Linked DNA regions of Homo sapiens: region 2 is linked to region 1. The links are contacts of gene promoters, found by promoter capture Hi-C in blood cells and fetal thymus (Javierre and others, 2016). All regions are on one chromosome and are shown on one strand. The core of a region is centred on a gene start or on the middle of the fragment in contact, and the rest is flanking DNA. Distances in the headings are between cores, read along the strand shown.

Region 1 (2,828 bases), core at 134-2,633:
GAGATGGGGAAGATCCCTTGAGGAGGATCTCTTGGGTTCAGGAGTTCGAATCCAGCCTTGGCAGCAGACCCCATCCCTGAAAACAATAAAAATTAAAACAACAACAGTGGGATACTAGTCTTTTAATTTGAAAAAAAAAGGGGTGGAGAAAGGGAAAACCAGTTTTCAAAAAAGGCCAATTTCCTAGACATTAGTGGTTGATTACTAACTCATTTCATTAAACTAAATTATGAATTGGCTTTTCTCGTCAGTGTCACCACTCTGATGGCGTTCTTTTCCATTTTCCATCTTCACCCTGGCCGAATGTGGGAAATGATCTGGTTTGTGCATAATCCGCGAGGCCCAGGGAGGATCTTTTGCCCCTATTGTTTTCTTGGGTGTTCTCACTCTGGGGGCCTGACATTCCTCGCGTGTCTAAGGCAATGAGGGAGCAGTGAAGCGCGGGGAAGCCGCACAAAAGACATCCAAAGGCTATCAATGGAAAAAGATCAATTAGGTGCACACAAGAAACACCCAATATGCCAGGGAAGAGAAAAATACCCTTTTCCAGAGGGTGGGAAATTGATTGAGCTTCTGTGAGGGTCCACAAAGAACTGGACGGATGCAGTGGTGGATGGCGATCTCTCTGGACCACTCCGGACGCGCCCAGCAGACGCAGCCTACGCCTTTAGGTCCTAGGAGGCTGAGAAGGGTGGGGAGAGGGGGGCAGCACGATCTTGTGTCTTTCCTCCCCGTGCCGCCTCTACCGAATCGCGGATGCTTCATTAATCTTGCAGGCGCCGCAGCTCGGGTCAGTATGGAGGCGGATCGGTGGCAGAGCCCGGGCCTCTGGGCTGCGCCCGCCCGTTCAGCCTGGCCCGGGAGGGGAGCGGCCGCGCGGTGGGCCAAAGACGCCCGGCCTTCCCTCCGTCTGCTTCCAGCAGGCACAGCCGGGAGGCTGGGCTCAGGGGCTGACCCGAATCTCCCCTAGAGCTGGGCCCACCCGGCTGCCCCCCGAGCAGCCTCGCCGCTCCCACGCCACCGCCCAAGTGACAGGCCCGGGAAGGCCGGACGGGACGCAGTCTTCCCGCCGGGGTCTTCCCTCCGGCTGGCCGGCCGCTGCAGGGCGCGCGCGCACACACGTACACACACACACACACCTGCCCACACACACACACACACACACACACACACACTGCCGCCTCCTTCCCGCCCCGCAGCCCTAGCAGCCCCCAACCCGCTCCCCAGCGCGCTGCGCCCCGGCGGCCTCCGCAGGCCCCGCCCCGGGGAGGAGAGCCAGGCGCGCGCGGGAGCTAGGCTCGGGGAGGGGCCGGCGGTGGGGGAGTGTCTGCTGCCCCCGCCCCTCGAGTGAGTGACTGAGCGAGGAGCTCCCCTCCCTCGCTCGCTCCTCGCAAGCTCCCGCTCGCTCCCTGCCCACTCCCGGGGGGACGTTCCGTGCCGCGGCCGCCGCGGCCGCTGCTTCTTTCACACTTTAGTTGGGAGCTGCGCGCCGCGCTCAGTTACTGGAGAGCTGGCCGCGCGCCGCCGCCTCCCGCACGCTTGCACGCGGGCCCGGCTTCGGGGTTTTGGGTTCTTACTCCAAGCGGCGGGGAGGAGGGGGAGCCCCGGACACACTGTGGGGAGGAGGAGGAAGAAGAGGAGGAGGGAGGAAGAAAAAAGACGAGGAGGACAGGGGCGGGGGGCGGGAGGCTTGCCACCTTCAGCCCCCCCGCGAACGCCCAAGGTAAGTGTGAGCCATTGCCTGCTCTGGGGCGGGGGGAGCTGGCGGTGCAGCCCGCCCCGGCTCGGCTACCCGGGCATCCCCGGGTGGGCAGGGAGGGAGGCCTGCGGGGTGTCTGCCGCACGGAAGGGATGGGAGCCGCGGTCGTGGCGCTGCCTGCGCGGGGCCCGGGCCGGGGCTGCTGCTGGTGCGGGGCTGGCGGGGTTGCTGCCAGGGACGGAAGCTGGGGTGGGGGAGCCGCGAGGGGCGTCTGCCGGCCTGGGCGGAGGGGCTGGGATGTGGTCGGGGCTGCTGACGACTTTCGTCACATCGAGGCCTGGGTGGCTGGTGTTAGACACCCCTCCCTTCCCACCCGCACCCTGCCGCCCTCAGCCTTCCTGCTCTCCTCTAGCTTTGCATGTAGCCACCGTACTTTGCAAGCCAGAGCTTGAAAGGAAAAACACAATTTAGGATCCTTTGCTAAGTATCCAAGTCCCTTCTCTCGCTCCGACTGATTGATGTGTTTGTGTGGGTGGTTTGACCCCCGGGATTTCTGAAGTTTTGACCTTTTTGGGGTGGCTCGTTTCGTTGCATCTGTTTGCCCACCTCGGTGTATTTATTATTCGTGCCCATGCGAGGCAGCCAGAGGGTGCTTGGTTATTGTACACGAAACAGATTTCACTCTCCTCTGCAGGCAGTTCGCGAAGTGCCGCCGCCGCGGCTGCCTTTGGTCTGCTGGTTAATGTCCTTTCCCTATCATCCACCCTGCTCCCTCCCTCTACGGAGGGTTAGTTTTTGTTTTTGTTTTTGTTTTTTCCTTTCCACTTACTGTTTGTGTGAGAGAAGTCCTGGGCTTAAGGGCTCTCAGCACTCGTTCATTTCTCTTCTAAAGCTCTGAATGGCTCAGGCATGTCGGTAAAATTTGGGGTGGTCCTCTTTGCTCCAAGAGTTGCATGGCCAAAGATAAAAATATGCACACATAAACACGCATTAATTCTGAGAGACGGCAAGCAGTTTGAGAGAGAAATAATTTGTTTTCAATAGGAAGTCGGTGACCTATGGGATCTCTTCCATTGCCGGTGGGTTAGGAAAATTGTTTTAAAATAGATAGTGCTTGTGTTGTCCGTGG
Region 2 (2,828 bases), core at 106-2,605, 100 kb after region 1:
GGGTTTTCCCATCTGTGTAGTGTGGGGAATAAAACTAGTACTTGCCTGCCTTCATAGGGCTGTTGTGAGACTAAAATGTATTAATATTTGTAAATCTTAGCATAGTACTTGGCACATGATAAGCACTGAGTTAGTATGCTCATCATCATATTAGCAGCCTGCAGTTGCGCAGACCTCTGACCTATGCAGTTTGCATTTCTGAAAATGGTTGCTTGGTTTCCTCTGATTACGCTGGAGGAGAATGCGTCATCAGTTTATTTGTAGATGTATAATTCTCTAAACTTAAAAGATGATCAATTGTCCATGTAATACTTATCTCTTTTAGATTTTAAGATATGTGTGTTCCTATGGTTTGTTCTTTCTCTGGTTTGACCTAGACCAGTTTCTGTACTGTGTAAGATGTATACGTGAATATTTGTCTTTTAAATGAAAAGACCAAAGGACATGCATGATTCAGGAATGATGAATATAATATTATGCCTCATTTCTTTCAAAGTGTAGTTTAAAAGAAATCCCACCATAGAGGTTAACAAATACATTTTTTGCTTATCAACCATAAATCTATACATGAGTGTGTGTGTCTTGTTTATCATGCAGAGTGAGATGTTGGTAGAAGTAAGGAGTAAAGCACCATGAGAGGGCTAGAGGCAGCAGACACAGATGATGCCCCAGTGATTGTAATGGGATAAATGCATCCATAAGCAGCTGAAATAAAAAGATATACCAATTAATTGGGTACCATTTCAATTCACATTTTATTCTTTGAAGATATTCTGTTATTTGTGATTATAATATTAAAAATGAAATCCCCCAATTTATCTCTTCATATTAGAATTTTTCAGATTAATCTAAAAATTTAACTGTCAAATAAGAAACTGTAGGCTGGGCACAGTGGCTCACGCCTATAATCCCAGCACTTTGGGAGGCCGAGGCGAGCAGGTTGCCTGAGCTCAGGAGTTCGCAACCAGCCTGGGCAACACGGTGAAATCCTGTCTCTACTAAAATACAAAAAATTAGCCAGATGTGGCAGCGTGCGCCTGTAGTCCCAGCTACTTGGGAGGCTGAGGCGGGAGAATTGCTTGAACCCAGGAGGCGGAGGTTGCAGTGAGCCAAGATCATGCCACTGCACTCCAGCCTGGGCGACAGAGCGAGACTCTGTCTCAAGAAAAAGAAAAGAAAAGAAACTGTAAAAGTACTACAAAAAACGCAAGTGAGTATATTTATAATCTTAGGTTGCAAAATGTCTTTCTCTTAATGCTACAAAACCCAATACCAAAAGAAAAAGTTTGTGATAAACTGTGATTATATAAAATCTAAAATTTTGATTGGCAAAAAGTAAACTACCATAAACTAAGTCAAAAGACAAATGTCAAACTGAGAATAATATTTGCAATACAACTGAAGTTAATATGACTAATAGAAAAAGACCCTTCAAAATCTGTAAGGAAAGAACTAACATACCAATTGAAAAATGGACAAAGTTCATGGCCAGGCAATTCAAAAGAGAAAAAATATAAAGGGACAAAAGAGTACAGAAAGATATTCTACTTCTCAGTAATAAAATAAACCAAAAAAACAAACCAGCAAAAAAACCCAAAGCAAAACAAAACATTTTTTACCCTTCAGATTGGGCAGGAACAGGTGGCATCTGTCTCATGCTATAATGGAGAATGTCAACGCAGAACAATTTTTCTGGGGCACAAAATAGTAACATATATCAAAAATGTAAATGAGCATGCCCTTTGCCCCAGGAGACCCAGTGCTAGGAATTTATCTTAGGAACGTAATTGGACAAGTGTGCAAACCTGTGTGTTCAAGGGTCTTTCTCACTGATGAAACATGCATGGAATAGAGCCATTAGAGATCAAGGTATTCTATATTTATTGATATGGCAAAAGGTTTGTGACAGATTATTAAGTGAAATTAGTAAAGGGATTTTATGCAGCATATCTTGTTTGTAAATTTTACTTGTTTAAAATATATGTAAAATTCTGTGTGAGTGCATAAAAGAAGTGTTTGAAAGGCCATTCACCAAAACTTTTACGATGGCAGTCTCTTTATTGTGAAGTTTCAGGTGATTCTTAATTTCTTCTTTGTATTTTTCTGTGTGTCTTGAATCTTTTATGTTTAACATTTATCATTCACTACAACTGTTTATTTTGATAAATATAATTCAAATGTTTCCATCTCCAGAAGGCCTTTAGTTGTGTTTTCAGGGCAATGGTGAAATCTATCCCAGAGGAGAAAGCACTATCACTGGAAATAGCCCCAGGGCAACAGGGATCTGACTGATAGAAATGTTAGCCCAGGCATACAGATGGAGTCTGATGACTGGCACTTGTTGGTTTCATTTAAAACCTAGCATTTCACTTCATCCTAAGAAGCACTCGTTGACTACCTTGCATGAATTAGGTGCTGTGCTAGGCACGGAGGCTGTAAAGACGGGTTAAACCTGGTCCCTGCCTTTAAGGAACTGGTAAAGATGCAATAGATGGACATCTTGACAGAAAATGTCAGTACCATAGGGTGATAAGGCAAAAGGTCTCTTTTTCCAAGGAGTGGGGGAAGACTTGTAAAGAGGATGATTAAAGCCTCAGCTGAGTCTTAAAATATGAATACCAGCCAAAGGAACTAAGTGAGACAGAGCAGGAGGTTTAGGCTGAGAGTCAGTGAGAACAAAGGCTTAGAGGTACACCACACATACAATATAGCAGGGGAGACTGGGAAACTTTAACCAACTGGTGGAGACATAACTTTAGAGAATCTCACATTAACGGCAGGAGTCTTAAATATTTGAAAATTTTACTCTGGATTTTTTTTCAAGACAC

What was found. The method cuts DNA at HindIII sites, captures the fragments that hold promoters and counts their contacts. A CHiCAGO score of 5 or more calls a contact.
Region 2: a fragment that was not itself captured here is called in contact with the fragment with the promoter of C1orf21 in region 1 in 2 of 17 cell types (megakaryocytes and M1 macrophages); the score reaches 5.4 in megakaryocytes.

What each region holds. Positions count from the first base shown.
Region 1 is chr1:184,385,646-184,388,473 of GRCh38, forward strand. It overlaps C1orf21 (chromosome 1 open reading frame 21), which reads left to right and starts at 1,384. Exons shown (of 6, transcript NM_030806.4): 1 at 1,384-1,723. It overlaps C1orf21-DT (C1orf21 divergent transcript), which reads right to left and starts at 1,059. Exons shown (of 1, transcript NR_172919.1): 1 at 108-1,059. RefSeq lists silencers at 870-929, 1,020-1,129, 1,160-1,419. The HindIII fragment of the contact is 4,352 bases long and covers 1-2,828 here.
Region 2 is chr1:184,487,803-184,490,630 of GRCh38, forward strand. The region is part of intron 2 of C1orf21 (chromosome 1 open reading frame 21); the gene reads left to right. Among named protein-coding and RNA genes, the nearest start is that of C1orf21, 100 kb to the left of the region's middle. The HindIII fragment of the contact is 6,704 bases long and covers 1-2,828 here.